Regions from separate parts of the Homo sapiens genome. Here regions 1, 2, 3, 4, 5 and 6 are each linked to region 7. Evidence: promoter capture Hi-C in 16 types of primary human blood cells and fetal thymus (Javierre and others, 2016). All regions are on one chromosome and are shown on one strand. Each heading gives the region's core, a stretch centred on a gene start or on the middle of the fragment in contact. The rest is flanking DNA. Distances are from core to core; before and after follow the strand shown. Region 1 overlaps TMEM131 (transmembrane protein 131). Region 2 overlaps TMEM131 (transmembrane protein 131). Region 3 overlaps VWA3B (von Willebrand factor A domain containing 3B). Region 4 overlaps TMEM131 (transmembrane protein 131). Region 5 overlaps TMEM131 (transmembrane protein 131). Region 6 overlaps VWA3B (von Willebrand factor A domain containing 3B). Region 7 holds the start of VWA3B (von Willebrand factor A domain containing 3B).

What was found. The method cuts DNA at HindIII sites, captures the fragments that hold promoters and counts their contacts. A CHiCAGO score of 5 or more calls a contact.
Region 1: a contact is called between a fragment that was not itself captured here and the fragment with the promoter of VWA3B in region 7, in 3 of 17 cell types (naive B cells, total B cells and monocytes). The highest score is 10.8, in naive B cells.
Region 2: a contact is called between a fragment that was not itself captured here and the fragment with the promoter of VWA3B in region 7, in 3 of 17 cell types (naive B cells, total B cells and megakaryocytes). The highest score is 8.3, in naive B cells.
Region 3: a contact is called between a fragment that was not itself captured here and the fragment with the promoter of VWA3B in region 7, in 1 of 17 cell types (M2 macrophages). The highest score is 7.6, in M2 macrophages.
Region 4: a fragment that was not itself captured here is called in contact with the fragment with the promoter of VWA3B in region 7 in 4 of 17 cell types (total B cells, naive B cells, megakaryocytes and 1 more); the score reaches 9.4 in total B cells.
Region 5: a fragment that was not itself captured here is called in contact with the fragment with the promoter of VWA3B in region 7 in 3 of 17 cell types (total B cells, naive B cells and monocytes); the score reaches 8.1 in total B cells.
Region 6: a fragment that was not itself captured here is called in contact with the fragment with the promoter of VWA3B in region 7 in 1 of 17 cell types (M2 macrophages); the score reaches 5.7 in M2 macrophages.

What each region holds. Positions count from the first base shown.
Region 1 is chr2:97,914,967-97,918,248 of GRCh38, reverse strand. The region is part of intron 2 of TMEM131 (transmembrane protein 131); the gene reads left to right. Among named protein-coding and RNA genes, the nearest start is that of TMEM131, 79 kb to the left of the region's middle. The HindIII fragment of the contact is 1,215 bases long and covers 1,290-2,504 here.
Region 2 is chr2:97,852,876-97,856,339 of GRCh38, reverse strand. The region is part of intron 5 of TMEM131 (transmembrane protein 131); the gene reads left to right. Among named protein-coding and RNA genes, the nearest start is that of ZAP70, 140 kb to the right of the region's middle. The HindIII fragment of the contact is 3,280 bases long and covers 270-3,464 here.
Region 3 is chr2:98,256,091-98,259,629 of GRCh38, reverse strand. It overlaps VWA3B (von Willebrand factor A domain containing 3B), which reads right to left. Exons shown (of 28, transcript NM_144992.5): 21 at 3,456-3,506. Among named protein-coding and RNA genes, the nearest start is that of CNGA3, 89 kb to the left of the region's middle. The HindIII fragment of the contact is 8,873 bases long and covers 1-3,539 here.
Region 4 is chr2:97,868,975-97,872,510 of GRCh38, reverse strand. The region is part of intron 4 of TMEM131 (transmembrane protein 131); the gene reads left to right. Among named protein-coding and RNA genes, the nearest start is that of TMEM131, 130 kb to the left of the region's middle. The HindIII fragment of the contact is 4,310 bases long and covers 1-3,502 here.
Region 5 is chr2:97,886,516-97,889,993 of GRCh38, reverse strand. It overlaps TMEM131 (transmembrane protein 131), which reads left to right. Exons shown (of 41, transcript NM_015348.2): 4 at 1,874-1,942. Among named protein-coding and RNA genes, the nearest start is that of TMEM131, 110 kb to the left of the region's middle. RefSeq lists enhancers at 2,251-2,750, 2,751-3,252. The HindIII fragment of the contact is 1,125 bases long and covers 1,025-2,149 here.
Region 6 is chr2:98,276,746-98,279,977 of GRCh38, reverse strand. The region is part of intron 22 of VWA3B (von Willebrand factor A domain containing 3B); the gene reads right to left. Among named protein-coding and RNA genes, the nearest start is that of CNGA3, 68 kb to the left of the region's middle. The HindIII fragment of the contact is 3,674 bases long and covers 1-3,232 here.
Region 7 is chr2:98,085,330-98,088,744 of GRCh38, reverse strand. VWA3B (von Willebrand factor A domain containing 3B) reads right to left here and starts at 1,578. Exons shown (of 28, transcript NM_144992.5): 1 at 1,382-1,578. RefSeq lists enhancers at 849-1,349, 1,384-1,453, 1,350-1,850. The HindIII fragment of the contact is 2,164 bases long and covers 612-2,775 here.

The DNA of each region.
Region 1 (3,282 bases), core at 648-3,147, 170 kb after region 7:
ATGTTGGCCGGGCGCAGTGGATCACACCTGTAATCCCAACACTTTGGGAGGCTGAGGCCGGTGGATCGCCTGTGGTCAGGAGTTCGAGACCAGCGTGACCAACATGGTGAAAACCCGTCTCTACTAAAAATACAAAAATTAGCCAGGCATGGTGGCATGCGCCTGTAGTCCCAGCTACTCGGGAGGCTGACACAGAATTGCTTGAACCCGGGAGGCGGAGGTTGTAGTGAGCCGAGATCGTGCCACTGCACTCCAGCCTCAGTGACAGAGCAAGATTCTGTCTCAAGAAAAAAAAAAAAAAGAGAGAAAAAAACCAATCATGTGATTAGAGGGTTGGGCTTTGAGCCAACCCACCCTCCTCTAGGGAAGCCGAAATGTGAGTTGGGTCACATGGTGGTCAGTGATTGAATCAGCCATACCTTACCTACCTGATGAAACTGGATACTGAAGCTTGCTAGAACCTGCTGGGAGGTAATTGAATCATGGCGGCGGTTACTCCCATGCTGTTCTTGTGATTGTGAGTTCTCATGAGATCTGGTGGTTTTATAAGGGGCTTTTCCCCCTTTGCTCAGCACTTCTTGCTGCTGCCATGTGAAGAAGAATATGTTTGCTTCCCCTTCCGCCATGATTGTTAGTTTTCTGAGGCGTCCCAAGCCCTGCAGAACTGTGAGTCAGTTAAACCTCTTTTCTTTATGAATTAATTACCCAGTCTTGGGTATGTCTTTATTAGCAGTGTGAGAACAGACTAATGCAGATGGTTAGCATCAGAATTGTACTGCAGTTCACTAGTGGGACTGTACATTGTCTGTATTTTTCTTGAGGACATGCTATGCCAGATTGCCTTAGATTTTTAGGTCACAGATTTTCTTATGTAGGGACTTAATGATTCTGGAAATAAGATATTGTGGCATTATTTCTGTTGATCTAAGCCAGATGTTGGCAAACTTTTTCGGTAAAGGACCAGATATTAACTACTTCAGGGTTTGTGTCCCGAATGGTCTCTATCACAACTATTCAACTTTGGTCATCGTAGTGTGAAAGCTGCCGTAACAGTATGTGAGAAATGGGCATAAAACTTTATTTGCAAAAGCTGGCAGAAGACTGGATTTGGCTCATGGGCTAATAGATTACCAACTTCTTTTCTAAATTGTCTTGGAAATGGGCTTTAATGTTCTCCCAGGAGAAAAGGAAATGGAGAAGGAGCTGTGATTTTGACTTGTAAGGAGGCCTAGAAGTACTCATCTTTTGTTTTAAATTAAAGGACTTCTATTATAAAAGAAATATAAGCTTGTAGAAAATTTGAAAAATGTGAAAAAATAATAAATATAAGTCATATTTATTGGGTGTTGACAAGTCAGGTACTCTTCTAAATTCTTAAATACATGAGATGGTATTCATTTTATGATCATTTTACAGGTGAGCATATTAAAGTGCAGGGAGTTTAACCTAACCAAATAAATGATTATTAAGTGATAAAGCTAGAATTGAAAACCAAGCATTTGACTCTGAGGCCTAAGTTTTTAACCGCTCTGCAATAACAGGGGTCATTACCCTTGTATCCCACTGCCTAAATGTACTACAAGGTAGTGCTTTTTGTTTTTTCAGTTATTTTTCTCTCTGCAAACAAAGCTAGATTTTCTCACTCTACATTATCAGTTTTACAATATTACAACTAATTTTGTACTCAAAACAGCCACTTCATGTCATGTCAAGTTGATTACCTGTGGCTGAAGAGAGAAGTGGGTGGGACACTAGAAAGCCGTCATCAGAGGCCAACAGCTCTGCAGCTCCTTGTAGTTGGCAGAATGCTGCTTTTACAGACTTTCCCCAAGGGTATTTGGCTAGTGAGGGCAGAGCTGGTGTTTGCACACAGGTTTTTATTTTCTACTTTAAATTTTGAGTCTTCTCAGAAATACCTGCTCCCCACTTCATCCTCATTTTGATTCTCCCTTTACTACTATTTCCTGCCCTCTATTGTAGTACAATAAGTGGTACAAAAGAAGAATAAATAGCGGGTTCAGAAACAGCCTTAAGGCTGGGTGCCGTGGCCCACGCCTATAATCCCAGTACTTTGGGAGGCTGAGGCGGGTGGATCATTTGAGGTCAGGAGTTTGAGACCAGCCTGACCAACATGGTGAAACTCCATCTCTACTAAAAATTAAAAAAAATTAGCTGGGCGTGCTGGCACATGCCTGTAGTCCCAGCTACTTGGGAGGCTGAGGCAGGAGAATTGCTTGATCTCGTGAGGCAGAGGTTGCAGTGAGTTGAGATCACTCCACTGCATTCCAGCCTGGGCAACAGGCAAAATTTTATTTTATTAAAATAAAATAAGAAACAGCCTTAAAAACTAGGAATAAAGAATACCACAGAATACTAAAATGGTATGCAAAGTCTGAATATAGAAAGATCTCACACCTTAAACAAAAACTAACTCAAAATGGATCATGGACTTAATGTAAAACTATAATAAAACCTTTAGGGAGAATAAAACTAAGAGGAAAGCTTCAGCTTACAGGGCTAGGCAAAGAGTTCTTGACACCAAAGAATTAATACCAGATGTGCAATGTATAAAGGAAAGATCGATGAATTTAAAACTTGCTCTGGGCCAGACGCAGTACCTCATGCCTGTAATTCTAGCACTTTGGGAGGCCAAGGGAAGAGGAGCCATTGAGCCCAGGAGTTTAATTAAGACCAGCTTAGGCAACATAGTGAGACCTTGTCTCTAGTAAAATAAAAAGTAAGTAAATAAAATAAATAAAAAATTGTCCAGGTGTGGTGGTGTGCACCTGTAGTCCCAGCTACTCAGGAGTCAGAAGCAGAGAATCTTTTGAGCCTGGGACATCAAGCCTGCAGTGAGCCATGATCACACTGCTGCACTCCAGCCTGGGCAACAGAGCCAGACTGGTCTCACAAAAACAAACAAACAAAACCTTTCTCTGCAAAAGACCATGTGAAGATGTAAAGATAAATATAGACTAGGAGAAAATATTTGCAAGTCACACACCTGACAATGGACCTAGTTTCTGGAATATAGAAAGAACTCTCGAAACTCAATAGTATAAAAATAAAGGAAACAGGGAAAAGAGATGAGCACACATTTCCCTGAAGGGGAAATACAGATGGTAAAAACGACATGAAAACCTGTTCAACATTGTTAGCCACCAGGCAATGCAAATTAAAACCCAAAACACAAAACAGTGACAACACCAAATACTGGCAAGGATGTGGAGAAACTGGATCACGCATGCATTACTAGAGGGTATGTGAGTGATACAGCTACTC
Region 2 (3,464 bases), core at 660-3,159, 230 kb after region 7:
TTCTCTGTATATAAGTTTTTGTAATTATCTATAATTATCTGTTAATTGAATATAATTATCTAATTATAATTCAAAATTATGTAATAGACTGCATTTAGGCCATTCATCTTTCATGGCCATATTATATATAGGCCATAAAATATGCAATATATGTTTTGCATCAGAAAATACAGAATTTTATAATAATATTCTATACAAGTCCAATTGTGGAAATGGGGTGCCTTACACACAGTAGGAAACAAAAATGTTTTCTTTATTGACTAGAAGCTTTTGATTAATTAAATTTTCAGACAAACTGAAGATTAGGACAAACTTTGTTTCAGTCTGTGACTAAAATTAAAATGTTATAGTTCACTTATTTCAGTATACTTAATGATCAATCTCTTCTCATGGGTTGAAGGGTGTTAATAAATATTAATGATTATTTTAATTAGATATAGAAGGACATTATTCTATTGATTCCATGCATGTTTTTGGGAATTTAACAAAATGCGATGTAGCAATAGTATGGAATTTTATGCAGATAATAAAGAGAATGAAATAGGTCTCTGTCTATTGATCTGGAATAATATACATGACATGCTAATATGTAAGAAAAGCATATTGTAGAGTAGAATATAATGCCTTTTTTTTTTTTTTTGAGACAGGGTCTCTCTCTGTCACCCAGGCTGGAGTGCAGTGGCATGATCTCAGCTCACTGCAACCTCTGCCTCCTGGTTCAAGCAATTCTTGTGCCTCAGCTTCCCCAGTAGCTGGGACTACAAGCACCTGCTACCACACCCAGCTAATTTTTGTATTTTTTGGTAGAGATGGAGTTTTGCCATGTTGGCCAGGCTGGTCTCAAACTCCTAGCCTCAAGCAATCTGCCTGCCTCAGCCTCCCAAAGTGCCGGGATGACAGGCGTGAGCCACCGTGCCTTGCCTATAATGCCATTTTTATTAAAAGCAAAAAATCTGTGTATATTTATTTGGGTATATTAATAAGAGCCGGAATAAAGCACAGATTTGCCAGGTTGACTGGATAACCTAATAATGGTGAGAATGGAGGAAGTTTGAGTGTATTAGCTTTTTATTCAGTCATCTTTGCACTGTATCACTAAGTAAAATAAGCACTTGTTACTTTTGCAGTTTAAAACATACAAGAAAATGTAAATTAAAAATAGTTTTGCCACCCCACCTATGTGGAAAGAAGGAATTAATTTAACAAATATTTATGAAGTGTCTACTTAAAGTGCCAGGCACTTTTGTTTTTACCAGTGAAAACAGAGATGCTTATCATACATACTCTGGGGAGTTTGGGTGAAGTCAGCAGCAGAGGGAAGGCAAGCATGATAAATAAGTAAATTTTATAAGATCTTAGAAGATGTTACAAGGTCAGAAGAAAAGTATAAGATCAGAGACTTAGGTGTGCACAGGGAAGGCGGTACCATTTTAAATAGGGTGGTCAGGGTAGGCTTTATTCAGAAGGTGACATTTGAACAAAGACTCGAAGGGCGTGAGGTAGGACTGTTTGGAGGAAAGTGAAATATATGGAAGAAGAGCATTCTAGCCGGAAGGACCAAGCAGTATAAAGTCTCCATTGTTGAAAGCAGGCCTGTTGTGCAAAGACAGCCAGACCAGAGTGAGCATGGGTGAGAGGAGAAGTAAGGGGGCAGACTATGAAGGGTCTTACAAACTATGGTTTGACTTGACTCTTTTTCCTGAATGATGTGGAAAGCCATCAAAGGGTTTTGAACAGAGGAATGAAATTGTAGCTTTAGGTTTTAATAGGATCATTGTTCATCAAAAATAGGACAAGGGACACCAGTCACATTGGCTGTTGTCATACTCCAGGGTAAGAAGATGATTAGATGATTACTCTGACCAGAGTGGTACGTGGAAGAGGTGAAGAAAGGAGTTGGACTTGGGATACAGGGATACCTTGGAGATATTATGGGTTCCGTTCCAGACCACTGCAGTAAGCCAGTCACAGAATTTTTTTGTTTCCCCATATATATAAAAGTTATGTTTATACTATACTGTGGCCTATTAAGTGCAGTAGCATTGTGTCTAAAAAATGTACATACCTTAATTTCAAAAATACTTTATTGCTAAAAACTGCTGATGATCATGTCAGCCTTCTGCAAGTCGTCATCTTTTTGCTGGTGGAGGGCCTTCCCTCAATGTTGACAGCCACTGACTGATCAGGGTAGTGGTTGCTGAAGGTTGGGATGGCCGTGACAGTTGCTTAAAATAAGACAGCAGTAAAGTTTGCCACATTCATTGATTCTTCTTTTCACAAAAGATTTCTCTGTAGCGTGCAATGCTGTTTAATAGCACTTTACCCACAGCAGAAATTCTTTCAAAATTGGAGTCAATCCTTTCAAACCCTGCCTCTAAGTTTATGTAGTATTCTAAGTTCTTTGCTGTCATTGTCAGCATATTCACAGCATCTTCACTAGGAGTAGATTTCATCTCACGAAACCACTTTTTTTGCTCATCCCTAAGAAACAACTCCTCTTCCGTTCAAGTTTTATCATGGGATTGCACAAATTCATTCACATCTGCAGATGCCACTTCTAATTCTTTTCTCTTGCTGTTTCTACCACATCTACAGTGACTTCTCCACTGAAGTCTTGAACCCTTCCTTCAAAGTCATCCATAAGGGTTGGGATTAACTTCTTCCAGCCTCCTATTGTTGACATTTTAACCTTCTCCCATGAATCACAAATGTTCTTTTTTTTTTTTTTTTTTCCAAGACGGGGTCTCACTCTGTCGCCCAGGCTGGAGTGCACTGGCACAATCTTGGCTCACTGCAACCTCCGCCTCCCAGGTTCAAGCAATTCTCCTGCCTCAGCCTTCTGAATAGCTGGGATTATAGGCCCGTCCCACCACTGCCAGCTACATTTTTTTTTTTTTTTTTTTTTTTAGTAGAGATGGGATTTCACCATGTTGGCGAGGCTGGTCTCGAACTCCTGACTTCAGGTGATCCACCCGCCTCAGCCTCCCAAAGTGCTGGGATTACAGACTTGAGCCACTGTGCCCAGCTGCAAATGTTCTTAATGGCATTTAGAATGGTGACTCATTTCCAGGAGGTTTTCAATGGACTTTGCCCAGATCCATCAGAGGAATCACCCTTTGTGGCAGCTATAGCCTTAAGCAGTGTATTTCTTCAATAAGAAGACTTGCAACTTGAAATTACTCCTTGATCCTTGGCTGAAGAATGGATGTTGTGTTAGCAGTCATGAAAACAACGTGCATCTTCTTGTACATTTTCATCAGAGCTCCTGGGTGACCAGTTGCCTTGTCACTGAGCAGTAATATTTGGAAAGAAATCTTTTTTCTGAGCATTAGGTCTCAACAGTGGATTTTAAATATTCAGTAAACCATGTTATAAATAGATGTGCTGTTATCTAGGCCTTGTCCATTTATAGAGCACAGGTAGAATAGATTTAGCACAGTTCTTAAGGTCTCTAGAATTTTCAG
Region 3 (3,539 bases), core at 468-2,967, 170 kb before region 7:
GAAAAAACACATAATTACTACTATCAGAAGTGAAAGCAGGCACATTACTAATTCAGCTTACAAAAATAAAAATAATTATAGAGAATACTATGAATAGTTCTATGCCAAAAATAGATAATCTAGATGAAATGCACAAATTCCTAGAAACAGATTACCAAAATGACTCAAGAAGAAATAGATAAACTCAACAGCCTATATAACAATTAAATACTTTGCATAAGAAATAAAAAATCCCCCAACAAAGGGAAATTAAGAAGCAGATGCCTTCACTGGTGAATTCTACCAAACAAATAATTAACAACAATACTGCTCAAACTCTTCCAAAAAATGGATGAGGGAATACTTCTTAACAGTCAGCAAGAAGAGAATTACCCTGATACCAAGGCCAGACAAACATGTCAAAGAAAACTACAGACCATTTTCTTTATAAATATGGACATAAATATTCTTAATAAAACACTAGCAAATCAAATCCAAAAGGACATTAAAAGGATTATACACCATGACTAAGTAGGATTTATGCCAGAAATGCAGGAGTGGTTCAACCCAAGAAAATCACATGATTTAATACATCACATTAGTAGAGCAAAGGGAAAAATCCATGATCATTTCAATAGATACAGAAAAAAGCACTTGACAAAATTTAACACACACTTTTCATGATAAAAACAATCAGGAAACTAGGAATATAGGGAACTTCCTTTCTTTCTCACTGGGATCAGGAACAAGACAAGAACGTCCCCTTTCACCACTGCTATTCAATGTTGTTCTGGAAGTACTAGCTAGATCAATTAGGTAAGAAAAAGAAATAAAAGGCATCCAAATTAGAAAGAAAGAAGTAAAATTATTTCTACTTGCAGATGATATGTTTCTATATATAGAAAACCCCATAGATTCCCCACAAAGCCACTAGTACCAATAAATTCAGCAAAGTTGCAAGGTACAAAGTCAAAATACAAAATTCAGCTGTGTTTTTATGTACCAGCAATGAACAATCTGAAAATGAAGTTAAGAAAACAATCCCATTTATAATAGCACCCAAAAGAACAAAATAACAGAGGATGTGAAAGGCAGGTATACTGAAAACTATATAACATTGCTGAAGGAATTAAAGATCCACTAAATAAATGGAAAGACATTCTATGTTCATTGATTGGAAAACAATATTGTTAAAATGGTAATACTCTTCAAAGCAATCTTTAGATTAAATATAATCCCTACAAAAATTCCAATTTTTTTTTCAGAAATAGAAAAGCCAATCCTCAAATGTATACAAAACTTCAAGGGGCCCTGAATAGCCCAAACAATTTTGAAATAGAAGAACAAAGTTGAAGGACTCATATTTCCTAATTTCAAAACTGAATACAAATCTACAATAATTAAAACAGTGTCAACTTGCATAAATATAGTCATATATAGACCAGTGGAATAGAATAGAGAGTCCAGAAATAAACCCAAACATTTATGGTCAGATGATTTTTGACAAGGGTGCCAAGACCATTCAAAGGGAAAGAATAGTCTCTTAAACAAATAGTGCTGGATAAACTGGATATTTACATGAAAAAGAATGAAGTTGGAACCCTACTTCACACCAGATACAAAAAGTCCCTCAAAAATGGATCAAAAGTCCAAATGTAAGACCTAAAACTGTAAACATATTAGAAGAAAACAAAAGGATAAATGCTCATGATTTTGTATTTGGCAATGGATTCTTAGATTTGACACCAAAAACACAAACAAAAGAAAAAAAAAGAAGAATTCACTTCCTAAAACTTAAAAACTTTTGGACCTCCAAGGACATTATGAAGAATACGAAAAGATAACCCATAGCATGGGAGAAAATACTGACAAATCAGATATCTGATAATGACTTAATCCTCAGAAGTTATACAACAAAAACACAACCCAATTGGAAAATGGACAAAGAACTTGAATAAACATTTCTCCAAAGAAGATATACAAATGGACAACAAGCACATGAAAAGATGTTTAACATCATTGGTCATTAAGAAAATGTGTATCAAAACCACAGCAGAATAGCCTTTCACACCCATGAGAATGACTTAAAAAAAAAAAGAAAAGGAAAATGTCAAGTGTTCATGAGGATGTGGAGCAATGAGAACCTACCACATGATCCAGCAATCTCACTACTGGATATTTATCCAAAGATAGTAAATCAATATGTATCATAGGGACACCTGCACCCTCATGTTTATTGCAGCAAGATATGGAATCAAACAAACTAAGTATCCATCAACGGATGGATGGATAAAGAAAATGTGGTATATATACACAATGGAATACTATTCAGCCAAAAAAAGGAACAAAATCCTATCATTTGCAGCAACTTAATATCATTTGCAGCACTTAATATCATTTGGAGGTCATGATATTAAGTGAGATAAGCCCGGCACAGAAAGACAAATAGTTCTCACCCATCTGTAGGAGCTAAAAACAAAAAAAAGTTGATCTTATGGAGGCAGAAAATAGAATCATAGTTACCAGAGGCAGGGAAGAGTGTGTGTGGAGGTGGGGGAGATGAAGAGAGGTTTGACTATTGGACACAAACATACAGTTAGGTAGAAGGAAAAAGTTCTAACACTTGACAACACAGTAGGGAGACCATAGTTAACAATAATTTACTGTATATTTCAAAATAGCTAAAAGAGACAACTTGAAATGTTCCCAACACAAAGGGATAATAAATGTTTGAGGTGATAGATAGTCTAAACATCCTGATTTGATCATTACATGTGTGCAAGTATCAAAATATCACATGTACCCCAAAATATGTACAATTATTATGGGTCAATAAAAATAAATAGATATGTTCTAAAAATGGCATAGCCACTGTGGAAAAACAGTTTGGTGGTTCCTCAAAAAGTTAAGCATAGAATTACCATGTGACAAGCAAATCCACTGCTAGGTATATACCCAAGAGAAATGAAAACATATGTCCACAAAGAAACTTCTACACAAATGCATATAGCAACATAGTTCATGATAGCGAAAAAGCGGAAGCAACCCAAATGCCCGTCAGTGGAAGAATGGACAGACAAACGTGGTGTATATATACACATGTAGTACTGATACCTGGGTGAACCTTAAAAACATGAGGTTTTTACATTAACTAAGAAAAGCTGCCAGACACAAAAGGTCACATGCTGTATGATTCCCTTCATATGACATATCCAGAGTAGCCAAAATCATAGAGACAGGAAGCAAACTGGTGGTAACCCAGAAAAGGGGGAGACAGGAATGGGGAGTGATTAATTTATGGTTACAAAGTGATTTTCTGGGGTAATGAAAAAGTTTTGAAACTAGAAAAAGGTAGTGGTTTGCAGAACATTTTGAATATTTTAAATACCTCTGCATTGTACACTTTAAAATGGTTAATTTTAGGTTACGTGAATTTCACCAAAAAAAAAAAGTGAGGAGGGAATGGAATGGCTTACTTTTCTTTTTCCTCTTGAGATAATGCTCGCCAAACAATTTTATTCAAGCGCCTGTTAAAAAAAAAAAGTCAACAATAATTTTGT
Region 4 (3,536 bases), core at 98-2,597, 220 kb after region 7:
CCGCAGACTGGAGCTGTTCCTGTTCGGCCATCTTGCCAGCAATTGGTTTTTATTGCGGTTGGGGAGCAAGGCTGGAGTGGGTTTGCATGATTGGAACTTCTCACTAGCTCCGAGAGAGAAGGGCTTTTTGATTGGCTTGCCCAGGTTTGGGGCTAAAGGTAAAGGGGCATCATTGGGGCTTGAAAACTATCAACAGTTGAATATCAAAAATGGAGTTAGAGTCTTTCTAACTCATGGCATCTTCTAAAAAGTATCAGGCCCTTCAGGAAGGGTGCATCTAGAATTTCCCTTGCTTCTTTCTTGACCCCAGTGCTGACTCCTGTCATTACCCTGATCATTCCTACTCTCCTGTAGAATTTGTTTCACAATAAACAGATCAAATTAGCTTTCTTTGTTTTCAGACTTTTTGTTTAAATTTATTCTTTAAGCCTACCTGTATTCTCTCTGCCCTTCCTCCCTTTCCCTCCCCCTCTTTTCTTTTCCCCCTTTCTCTCCTCTTCTCTCCTTGTAACAATCCCATGGGGCAATCTAGACACCACTGGCTCCCCTCCCATTCTCCACTCCCCCCCCGACCCCATTTTTATGCCAGTGCTGTTAAATGTTTTTCTGTTTCCATAGCAACTCCTATAATTACCTGATGGATTCTTCCTGCCTGCTATACAGACAAAACCAGTTCACTGAGACCATGGTATTGCAATAAAGAGTTTTACTAACATGAGGCCAGCCACACAGGAGATAGAGTTATTACTCAAATCAGTCTCCCTGAAGGCTTGGAGATTAGGGTTTTACAAGGATAGTTTTGTGGGCAGGGGGCTAGGGAATGAGGAATGTTGATTGGTTGAGGATGGAATCATAGGGATGTGGAATATGGTCCTCCTGCTCTGAGTCAGCCTTTGGGTGGGGGCCACAGGACCGGTTGAGTCAGCCAGTTGTCAGAAATGCAAACATCTGAAAGGATCTCTCAAAAGACCAACCTTAGGTTCTGTAGTAGTAATGCTTCCTACAGGAGTGATTGGGAAATTTAGAAACCTTATGATCTCCCAGACAATGTCCGGTTATCTCAGGCCCCTCTGATAACCCTAACCTCATGGCTTTTCATTAGTTTTCAGAAGCAGTTTCGTTTTGGGAAAGGTTATTATCATCCTTGCTTTAATGTTAAACTATAAACTAAATTCCTCCCAAAGTTAGCTTTGCCTGTTCCCAGAAATGACAAAGGACAGCTTGGAGGTCAGAAGCAAGATGGCGTCAACTATGTCAGATTTCTCTTACTGTTCTAATTTTGCAAAGGCAGTTTCACTCCAGACATTCATTGCAGGCTGTAAAAGATGCTTTGGGTAGAAACTTGGTTTACTAAAATCTTTGGCTTATATAATTATTACATTCAGAAAATCTTGATTTCAGATCTGAAGGTTAAAGTAGGTACTTCATGGCTATAAAAAAAATGGACGTTGAATAGACTATTGCTAAAAATAGATGTCTTTATTGTCAAGATAAATTTAGTTTATGAAAGGCATTTTTCTCTGATGACTTTTTGGTATTCCAAGAAAATCAAATAGGCCCCCTAAAGGGATACTTGGTGCCTCTTAGCTTTTCAATTCCTACCTACCCAATCTTTCCATAAAAGATTTTACATCAACTCCCCAGCTCAGCCTTCAATCTAAAATGTTTTTGAAAGGAGGATAGTAGTATTTTGCGGTAATTGAGTGGTACAAAGTACTGCATATTGATTTGACCCGACTTCCTGCCCAAAACTATGCTTAACAGAGTGCTGTGTCACTGTCATTCATAAGGTCTGCCTCAGGGCAGTTGCTAAGCCATTTCTTCAGCTGTTTCCTGGCACTGCAGTGTCATCTTTCTGTGGTGTAGGAAACTTGCCCTTGACCACAAAATTGCAGTTTACTTTCCAAGCTAGTCTCTAATTCATAGCTGCTGCTTTCTAATTCTTTTGAGCCTCAGACTATTCGAAAATATGGACAGTTCGTAGTTCTGCTGCAGCAGCACAGAGAACAGCTGTATGCCTGCTTCAGCTTGGTTTATAAATACCTCACACTGTCCCTTTTGGCCCTACTTCTGTCTTTGGACAGCCAGTAATGGAAACAAACAGGACCAGCACTGGCAGGCATTTGGAAATCTTTGTTTTATTTTTAAATTTTACCTGTTCAGCCAAGTAGTCATATATCCTGCTTATGATAGGCAGAATTCTAAGATAGACCAGAATTCTAAAAATTTCTGGCCTCTAATGTACCTGTACATACATTCTCCCAATTATTCAATCAAACACCAATCTAGGTGTTGCTATAGAGGATTTTGAAACTGTAACTAAGGCCCCAAATCAATTGACCTTTGAGATAGATTTTTTTTGGGTGAGCCTGACCTAATCCACGAACCTTTAAAATCTGGCTTTAGCAATCAGAAACAGAAATGTCAGGTATTTGAGGTAAGGGAGATATTGGATGCAAGAGAGTTTCTTCGTGCTGCTTTTGAAAATGGTAGGGTCATATGGCAAAAGACTGAAAGCAACCCGAATTTTATCAACAACCAGAATGAACTTAAAAGAACTTTGAGCTTCAGATGAGGACACATCTTGCTGACACCTGCATTTCCTTGTGAGACCTCGAGCAGATAAACCAGGCATTCTTACAGAATTGTAAGATAATGAACGGGCATTGCTTTAAGCCTCAAAGTTTGTGGTAATTTGTTACATAGTATAGAAAAGCAACACATTGTGAGTTTACAAATGGTCATGTACTTTCCATGGTCTAGATTCTGCTCATGTCACCAAAGGAACGGAGGATGGTGAGGAGGAAGGCAAGCTGTTCACAGACCTATGAGGTCTGTGAGCAAGTCTGTCCAAGGAGTGCCCGCTCCCTTTGCTTCCTGTGGTGTGGACTGCCCAGAGCTAGAGGCAGCCTGCCCTGTTTGAGCACGCAACGACTAAAATAGCCTGCTGATGTCCTTCCTGACAGCTTCCCTCTGTTCTTGTTACTCCAAGCTACTTTGAACAACATAAGTAGATGACTCATCTCCTCTGAGCAAGGGTTCATTCATTTCTATGGGATGTGGCCCATGCCTTTCCTCTTTGATCCCTGGAAGAAAGGGCAGGGCCAGCCTCAGAAGCATTGCAGATCAAGCATTCTGATCCACTCCTGCTTCCAGGCTCCTAGCACTTCCACACTTGTCTCTTTTCCCCACAGCCCTCTCCTGCAGGAGGCCACCTCCAATCCTGTCTTCTTGAAGGATACCCCAAATTACCTGTCCATTATGTATCCTGTCTTCTTTATCTTAGCTGAGATTGATTGTACTAAAGTTACACAAGGAAAAACATTGAGAAGGAATTCACAGGGATGTGCATGAATGGTTGCCAGTTAGCCTGAAGTCTATTTGAATTGTAAAAGCATTTTTTTTCTTAAGAAAGCATACAGTTGGTGAACTTTCAGGATGCAAGGAGGATGTTTTTATTTCTGTGCGCTGTTGTTTTCTACGTAAATGTCTATATGAAGCTTGAGGAAGAAGACTTTTATCTTCTATATTGTATC
Region 5 (3,478 bases), core at 338-2,837, 200 kb after region 7:
CAGTGTCCCTCCTCAGAGAGGCATTTTCGGTTCTAAACACAGCCCCGCCGTGTTTGATTTTTCTTTATACACACATTTTCACCTAACATATTCAACTTTTGTTCCCCCTACTAGGAGGTTAGTGCCATGAGAGCAGGTGCTTTTCTTTATTCCCCACTGTAGCCCCAGCCAATAGACGGTAACTGGCATATAGTAAACATTCATACATTTGTATTGAATGGATGGGGTATATACTTTTTTACCCCACCTGGCCACTTTAGACATTTCCATTTGTAATTTGCAGAACAGCCTCTTGGCTCTGTGAGAGAAAAACACTGTATCTTAATTTCCTTTTTCTCCAACATCTAAACAGTCCATGGAATTAATATATAGGAATTATATATTATATATAGGAATATATATTACATTATAGGAATATATATTATATATAGGAATATAATATTATATAGGAATTAATGACATACAGTTATGCCTTATACTTTATTTTTCCTTGATTTGATTAAGATTTATGTAAATTTGAGTTTCATACTAATGAAACTAATGAGCTGAGGAGCATCTCTTGTTTTAAAGGCGCCAAAGAATGTTTTTGTTACATAACATCTAAGAAACAGACAGGGCAGAAAGCAGGAAGGAATAGATGCCAACACTGTGTTGCAAGGAATTGTGCCTTCATGTCCCGGTGTCTTTAGTTTCATGCTTTAGTAAAATATAATCTTACTTTTGGTGCTTGCTTTCTTTTTTTGTTTGTCATCTTTTCTGTTCAACATATGCAGAGGGATTCTTAAGCTACACAAAAGAATGTTCTAAATTGGTAGGGCTAAAAACATGTTTGGATTTTATTACCTTCAGCTAAATTATTCCACTACTCAGATTATTTAATCTTTATAGAATTGAATTAAAGCCAAATTTCCTCCATATTATGAATGTCCTTGTCTATTTCTAATTATTTCTTGTATCTCCTAAATCCTGGATATTTCCTCTGACTCCTTAATCCTGAATGAAATTACTATATCATTTCAAAGCTTACGTTACTATGAATTTCAGTGATGATGGAAATAAAGTAGTCTCACAAAATGGGTTTTGCTCTGACATCATTTCCTAGAACAAAAACATCAAAATCTACTATTTTGAAACTTAGTGCCTGACTGAATTTCTGACTTTCTGACTGAATTTCTGACACTTTAGGCATGTGAACCACCACCACTACTCCCCCTACCCCACCAAAAGTCATTTATGTTTTATATCAGCGTTAGGCCCTGATGTTGTCTGAGGTTTGCTATTCAGAAATCTGTTCTATTGAGAAGTTCTGGTATCAGGTGGGTTAGTTAGAAGATGCTACTGTAATATGGAGGCCAGGACATCAGAGATCAGTTCTAGTGTATTCCAAACTCTCAGATGAAATAGATATTTCAATTCTTGGAAGTTTGTATCCCAAATTCATTTTTGTTTAGTCCTTTGCCACTCTAGTTACAATCTGATTGTGATTTTTGTCTTCATATATTGTCTGCTAAATGTATGTAAGTTGTATTAACTCTTTATTCATCATACATGTATCAGAAAATCCAAGCGACCTATTAAAGTATATCGTTACCAATTATACCAACCAAATAAATTTCAACATTCAGTCTGCCTGAGCATTTTCTATTTGCATATACCTTTGAAGAAGAAAAATAATCCCACTTTTTCATTTTCTAAAACGCAATCTTTATTGGTTTCTGCTAATTTAAAAAGTGACGCACATTTCTGATAGATTGTTAGACCCAATTTTTCTTAAAATGGCATTGTTATGACAAAAGTCAGCTGTCTGAATAGAGTTTGGGGAAACATATATTTTGAAGAATTGCTTCTTATGTTGTTTTCTTTTTATTTACAGTATATCTCTCTACCGGGGGAATTGCAGGCCCATACGATTTGAGCCACCAATGCTGGATTTCCATGAACAGTAAGTTTAAAATTTTTGGACTGTACTTTCCCATTAAACTATTAAATGTATTTTACATGCATTTGTCTTGTCTTTTGCCTGTGTTACATCTATGTGGGAAAGTTACATGTTCTAGTCATCAGGAAAACAAATGATACTGAATGCAGTTTGAAAATGGGAAGTAAGTATCTATTAGGAGTCTAACATGTAATATTAACTTTTAAAGCTTGAAAAATACTCGCTTGTTGTAGTCTCTGGTTCAGAGACTCTTTGGAAACAGCAAAGAACTTATAGTTAGCTGTTTTGATTAGCACTTCATTTTTATTTTTACTATTTAAAAATCTTCTTATGAATAAAATATATTCTATTTGTTTAATATATGTGCTTTTAATAGACAAGCTCTTATATATCACCAAATAGTATTATCACCAACCCATAATGGCAGGTAAAAGCAAACGCACAGACAGACATGGTTCATTCACAGAACTCTGCCTTGATGAGCTAAGCAAACCACTGCACACCCTCCCCCAAGCAGGAGAGACCCCCGGGCCTCTAAGCAGCTAATATACCCAAGGGCCAGCAAAGCAGCTACATACCTGCACTCAGCACCTAAGAAAGAGCCCCACAGTGCACCCCCAAGATATTTCCTTGGCCTGCCCAATGGCCCTGCACCTGAAATCAGGGCCTGAAAAACAGCCCTGTGGGCAACCACCGGCAGACACACCTCCAGACCAGCTGAGCATCTCTGTGCCTGTGTCAGGCCTAAGAAATAGCCCTGTGGGTCGCCACTAGCAAACATGTCCCCAGGCTAGCCAAGCAGCTTTGTGCTCACATCATGGACCTGAGAAGCAGCTGTATAGGCTGCCCCTGGCAGACACATCCTCGGGCCAGCTGAGCAGACTTGCAACTGTGTCTTGGACCTGAGAAACAGCCCCATAGGGCAGACACACTTCAAGGCCAACTAAACACCCATGTGTCTGCACCCCCACCCTGAGAAACAGCCCCATGGGTCACCCCAAGCCAACAGACACCCAAGCCATCTGAGAAGCCATGAGACTGCATCCCACGCCTGAAAAACAGCCCTGCGGGCCATCCCTGGCAAACATAACTCCCAGTTCAGCTGAGCAGCCTCAGCGGGCTCCTATATGTCCCTTCTCAGATTCTCCAAAAAGAGTTTTTTCATCTTGCTGAGTCAAAAGAAAGTTTTAACTCTGTGACATAAATCCACACGTCACAAAGCAGTTTCACAGATAGCTAGGCCTGAGAAACAGCCCTTTGGGCTACTCCTGGCAGGCATACACCCACACCATCCAACTAAACACGTGCTTGTGCTGCTGTCCAGAGTAACAGCCCTGCGTTTTAGAGCCAGACCCTAAGTTGGCCAGATTCCAAGCTGCCTGACCCACTGTGTGGATGCACACATCCCTGACCTGAGAAACAGCCTTGTGAGCCCACCCTCAACAAAGCTGCACCACTACCACCACAGACTCTCTCAGCCTAGGCTACTGAGATACTTGCAGACGTCAAGTGTGACTGACAGCTGAGGAAAGTACCCAG
Region 6 (3,232 bases), core at 435-2,934, 190 kb before region 7:
CTGGTGTGCAAATGAATTCTGAGTCTTTAAGAAAACTTTTCAAGACATCCACTCCTCTGGGCTGGCTATTCCGCCCCCACTCACGCATCCCCCTTGCTCTCTGCCCTTCCTTGCCCTGCTCTGTACCCCCAGAGGCTGGCCCCCAGGGAACACACCACCCTATCTCCCTAATTTTTGCTGTCTTGAGGCACGCGCCAAGCTCAGAAGGCAGGAGGAAGCCGGGGTATTGGTGTCCTGCCCACTCCCTGCTCTTTCTCTCTAGGGCTCCAGGAACACGCTTTCCTTCCCTTGCCCCTTTAAGTCTGGGGATGATAACAGCTTCCTGCTATTGCTTGTCCTGGGGTCCTGCAATATCCCACGGACTGCCTTAGACTGACCTTCACTTCTGCAAAGAGTTCCTTCATTAACGTTTCTTCACTTGTGCTGAATGAATTGGATTCTGCTTCCTGAGTGGCCCCTGCTAAGCCCTCTACACTCCGTTTTCTTCCTCCAGACAGGGAGGGCAAATCTGTCCCCAGATCTGTTTAGGGTGCTTGGGTAGAATTCATGGTTGGGAACAAAGACAAATGTAGAGGCAGGAGAGTGCTGGCATCTGCCCAGCCGAATCTCCAGCGAGGAGGGTGCCTTTAGCTTCAGAATGAAAAGACAGCCTGGTTCTAAGTTTTTGTCACCTCAGGGATCCCCAGAGTTGACACCCACCTTCCCATTCCTGAACATCAGGACATGAGACAGAAGACTTCTTAGAAAATAGAGTTTGGGGATATTTTCCCCCTTCTTTCAGTTTCCTCCAGTGACTGGTGTTTCTGAGCAGGATTCTCTCCTTAAAGCCCCATCTAACCCCTAGATAAACGTGGCACAGTAATGAAGGGCTTCATTTTCTCTTTGTCATCCTCTCACTGCCTCTGGGATTTCAGCTTCACTCTGGCCACATGCCCTGGAGGCCCATCAGGGGTCCCACTTCCAGATGCTAAACCATCACTGCAGTGCTGTCTGAGGACGGCATGGTCTGAATGTGCACACATCACTTCTGTGTGATGGTAACATCACCAGTGCACACCCCAGACTTGTTAACTTCCTGCCCACTGATATGGACAGGAGGCAGGGAAATACTGGGTAGAAGGCAGCAGTCCCCAGTGAGGGCCCCACTCTCAAGCCTGGACCCACATTCCTGTTTTCCTTCTCGAATGTTGCCTTTTTCAAAACCACTCTGGCCCACACCACCCCCCCATCCTGTACCCATAAAAACTCCAGGCTCCACTGGCAGTGGAGTAGCAGAGATGGAGAAAAGAGAAGCAGCAGCCTGACGTCGTTGAGAAGCAGCTTGACTTCAGGGGGATGGCTTGATGGCGGGACCTCAGAGAAGAGTGTGGCCAGTGATGGCTGAACCCCAGGGGAAGACCACCTTCCCACTCCATCCCCTTTCTAGCTCTCCATCCTGCTGAGAGTCACTTTCATCAGCAATAAAATTCCCTGTATTTACCATCTTCAATTTGTTCGTGTGACCTGATTCTTCCTGCATGCTGAACAAGAGCTAGGGATACAGCGGGCTGTCACACCAAGGAGTTAAACACTTAGCCATCTGTGGACAGCAACACTAAAGGAGCACGGTAACACACGCCCTCTGGGGCTCCAGGGGTTGTGGGTACTCCTCTAGAAGCTGCCTTGGGGCCACACAGAGTTCTGCTCCTGCCGGCACCCAGAAGTACTCATCTTGGCCCCTGCACCCACTCACCTGCGTGCTCCCTCTCCCGAGAGGGGCTGAGAGCCACGGGCTGAGTAAACAAGCCACCCTCTTTGCAAGTCCCATGAAGGGGTCAGGGAAAATTTCCTGTCTCAACATCAGTAGATCTTGTTCCACTGGAGAACAGTTCACAGCCACTAGGGAGCTAGTCTTCCCAACAGACCTGAATATCAGCAAAACAGACTAAAGTTTTTACTAGTGGAATTGGAAAGGCCGACTAGTCAGTTAGGGTGTAATGCCTCACACCTCCCGTTAATGGACTGTAAAAAAAAAAAAGTTACAATTGAAGAATGACAATTGGTTCATTTACTATCTGGGACACAGATAACAGCCGTATATATTCTGAGTTTATTTTACATAACTGATAACTGAAAGACACTTTCCTCTGTCTCCCCAGCTAACATCTTCCTGCATGTATAGTGTCAAAGTCACAACCCAACAGAATGTTCTCAACAGCAAATGATCTCTTCTCTTCCTTCTCCTAATTCCACCTCATCCAGCCTCGCCCATGCCTGCCTCCCTGTGTGCATTTTCCTAACGCTCTCTTTCTCCCGGAGCAGAGCACTCAATTCCCCACCCCTGAAGGCCATAGGCTCCAGCTTCCTTGCCAGTCACGGCTTTGAGAAGGAAACGTGTGCAGCCAGTGGTGTGGGTAACTTTCCACGGCCTCCTTTAGAGCTGCTTTCAGCTTAAAAATATTTTCTACCTCCAGATTTTCCAAAGCAGTCAAGGTTATGGGTGAGAGAGCCTTTTTGATCTTTCTGGGCCAAAGGATTTGCCCTGGAGAACAATCTTTATTTATTCAGAAAATGTTGGAGGACAGCACAGCTGGGCTGCCCTAGACCAGGCTCCCAGGGAGGATTAATTATAATTCACAGATGCCCTCCGGCAACTTCCCCTATCGTTCAGCTCTGAGGGCTCTGGATTGGCTAGTGAGGGTGAAATCTGCAATCACAGTAACATGAGGGGTGCTAGGGAGGGGAGTTTTCAAAGGGAATTTAAAATTTCAGACTTAAGATTTCTCCTGTCATTATGTAGTCAGTGAGCCAAGTGGCCATCTCCAGGGACACCACGAAGCCTGTGGATTATGGACATAGGTGGAAACCATCATACAGTCAAGCATGGAATGTGCCCTGTGCAGGATGCCAGGCAGAGCAGGTGGGAATAACGGCTCTCACTTTAGGTCTCATCTGGGCCAGCCAGGAACTGCCCGTGGAAGCTGGAGCATAAAAAGCAGGCACAGGCTCCCTGGACACAGCATTTGCTGCCGTGTCTCCTTCCCACCGCTGGTTCTTACTGACAGAAAAATCATGAAGCTGCCCCAAACTTAGGAATCGGCAAGGCAGCTATGGGGCGGGGGAGGGCAACCCTGTTCCAGATGAGGGTATCAGAAAGCCCCGGTCATCCAGACTCCATAACGCACCCTGGAGCAGGCCAGATGCAGTGGCCACAGCCCTCTGGACACACATGGGCAGCCCATTCCAAATGCAA
Region 7 (3,415 bases), core at 329-2,828:
TTTCTGATAAAACTATGCTATTTATTTATTTATTTACTATTATTCAGAGTTTCCTCAGCTGAGGTTATTATAAATTGGGGAACCAAGTAACCCAGAAGTCGGAAACAACAACATACCGGAGTTGAGCATTGCCCTAAGTTTTAGAGGCCATCCCAAGAACCATACATAGAGTTTGGATAGGAAAGTATTTCCTTAGAAGAAGGAGGAAGTGTAAAAGGAAAAACAAGGAAGTGAAAGTCTGAGCTGAAAATGTGGGCAGGCAAAGCTTTGGGGAAAATAGAAAGGTTAAGCTGGCAACTGTACAAGGGCCCCGTCTACTGGAAGCAGATGCTCCTGGGCTGCCCTGGGCGACAGTCTTGTGAAGTCAGCATGCCCTCAGAGAAAAGGTCCTATGTGCTCGGAGGTTCAGGGACAGTGCAGGGTTGAGAGTCCATTAATCCAGTTTAGACATTCAATAAGCTTCTAGCTACTTTATTATCAACACCCCAAACTTCCTATACCCCTGTTAGTTTCTGAAAAAGAAGTCTGGGCTAGGTGGATATATATCTTGTGATTTAGGTGAATTTGTGAACGATGATTTTTCCAGGAAGAAAGGAAACTGGGACGAAGCTTCATGATGGATCCTGATGCAACTCTTCCCCAGAAACCCTTAAACCTCCTCCCATTTTTTCTGCCCTTAAGGGACAAGGCTTGGCTGTGATCATTGGCTCAAATAATGTGGACAGAGACAAGGATATTGAAACGGACTGTCCCACCGTTGAGAAAATAGTCAAGAAGGCAATATCTGAGAATAATTGGAGTGCTTTAGGAGGAAGGTCATTGCTGAGAAGAAACAGAGCTTCCAAGAAAATGAAAGGAAAAGCTCTACCAAATGGAAACTAAATCTACTTATTAAGTCTTATTTCCATATAAGGAGGGTGAAAGAAACTGATATGATTGTGAAACCATGTAAGTGTTGCTTTGGCTTTTAGACTATACATATTTATCCTTATGTTCAGGAAATGTGTTTCTTCTGGTTCCCATGTTCCCTCCAAAGCCCAGGTGGACTTCATCACCTTGAACTGCTGGCCTATGGCATAGACAGAAACTAGGAAAACCGCTTTTCCACCAGAGCGGCTGGGCGTGGGCTCGGGTGAGGTGTGATGGAAAGAGCTCTAGAGTAGGAGGGGTCGGTACCTTGACCCTCGGCTTGCCCTGGGTAGCGGACGATTAAGTGGGCCAGGGCAAGTCACCGAGCTTTCCTGGTACTGTTTCCGCATCTGTAAAGTGGGCGTGTAGTCCACCTCAGAAATGGCATTTTTCCAAGACCTCCCTAGGCCGCTTGTTGGAAGGCTCGGCACCTCGGCGGCTCTCGTGCGGCAGGCATCGCTCCCACACTTACTAGGCAATATGTCGGGTGGAAGACGTGGCGGCTCCCGCTCAGCAGCCACCCTCCCATCCTCCCGGGCCCGCCTGACCCGAGAGGGCGGGCGAGGTAAGCATCCCGCTGGTGGATAAGGCAGCGATTCCGGCGGGCGAAGGCTGCGCGCCGGGGGCGAAGGATTCCAGCTGTTCTAGGTCTCTGTGACCCGCGCCTCTGGTTCCGAGCGCGGTCTGTTGACGACGGCGTCTCCGCGGTTGCCTGGACACGGCCAATCACAGCGCGGCTCCTGGAGCCGGCCCCGCCCACAGACCGCGCCCTCACTGGGGCGATGGCTGCGGACCGTGGCCAAGAGGGCGGGGCGCCGAGGCCGTCACCGAGCCAGGTGCGGAAAGCCGGCGTCCGGAACCACCCGGGCCGGGACGACCTCCACCCCAGACCCCCAAACAGAGGCCACGCTAGAGGGACAGGGCGAGTGGCGTTGCCCCTTGCGCCTACTGTCAATGGGAAAATTAACAACAGCGGAGAATATGAATGAAAGAATGAATGAATTAACAAACAAATACACTGATGAGCTGGGGTAGAAATATAGGGTGCGAGCAGACAGGGGAGGAAGGCGCCAGAGGCCGAGGAGAGGCGAGGAGACTGCGGGAAACGCTACAAACGAACTTCTTTTCATACTTTTCAGCAGAGCATTGACCCCTGTGTAGTTTTAATTTTCACCTCACCACTGTCAGGCGATGCTCTCTTCCTTGCACAGTTCAGAGAAAGACGCTTTAAAAGAGGTGGGGCAGTTCGTTGTAGCTCAGCCACTGGACGTGGGCGGAGCTGAGACAGACAGAAGGGACAGGGAGCTGCAATTTTGCAATTGTGGAGGCAGGGGCTGCAGTTGCCAAGAATATTCTTACCTGTTTGACATGAATATTTCTATAGGCATTATTTTCTCCATTCAGCTTTGTTTTTAACCTTTGTTTCAGTGTTACCTTATCAATTAAGCAAAAGGCTCTAAATATTTTCCTATTTTTCCAGTCACCAGGAAATAAAATTGTGCTTATGAAAAGTATCTTTAAAGTCTTAATAAAAGACCCCACAGTAAGTATTGTTTTTAGGGTATTGGGATAGTAAACGATTTTAGATTTTAAAATTATAGAACTGACCAGATCATTTGCAGGTTTTTCAAAGAACTAATAAAACATAGTTAATGTTAGAACTGAGTAATTCTGTCCCCCCAAAAAAAGTCTGCTTCATCCACAGGAATTTATTTCTCCTGCATTCTTTTAATGCCTCTATCATTTAAAAAGTACTGAAAGATTTCATTCCATATCACAAATCATTCCTGGCAGTTATTAGTTTATATATATTTGGCCCTGCAAATGAAACCTGCCATCCACACCACCAAAAAACAAGCAAAAGCTTGATAGTACTGAAGACTGTTCAGAAGGGAGTAAAACACCAGCCTCGCCCATGTTTGCCAATGACCCATTAATCCTTGCTGTCCACACCCTGCCACACTAATATTCTTGGGTCACGGGGGTGAGACAGAGCACACAGCAACACATAGCCAAATGCCCTGCCTCACATGGTCACGCCAGGCACTCTTGTTCCCACCTTCACCCCATGCCTGCTCCTTTCCCTAGGACACTTGCCACATACGTGCAAGTCACCAAGATGATCTGTCCCTATCTTTCGTGTTTATGTGTCTATAAGCATACATTCTGTTGAAAATGTGAAACATTACTTACTTAAATTGTAGAATGATAAGTGAGTAGAAGTTTAAGGTTATTTTGAAGCATTAAATAGTTGGTATGGACTTCAGTTTAGCTAGTTACAGAATGGTTTGCCTCATTTTTATTGAGTTATTTGAAATAAGAAAACCTTTAGCACAGTGGTGATACACTACTATACTGAACTTTTGACAAATTTGTTTTGAGTTTACATTTTTACAGATAATTTGTATCTTTCCTTAAACCTCAGTAAGCGACATTGATCAAATCACTGCCATCTTTGATGTCAAACTTCTGGACTTTACCATTAAGGGCTCAAATTATACTTTCA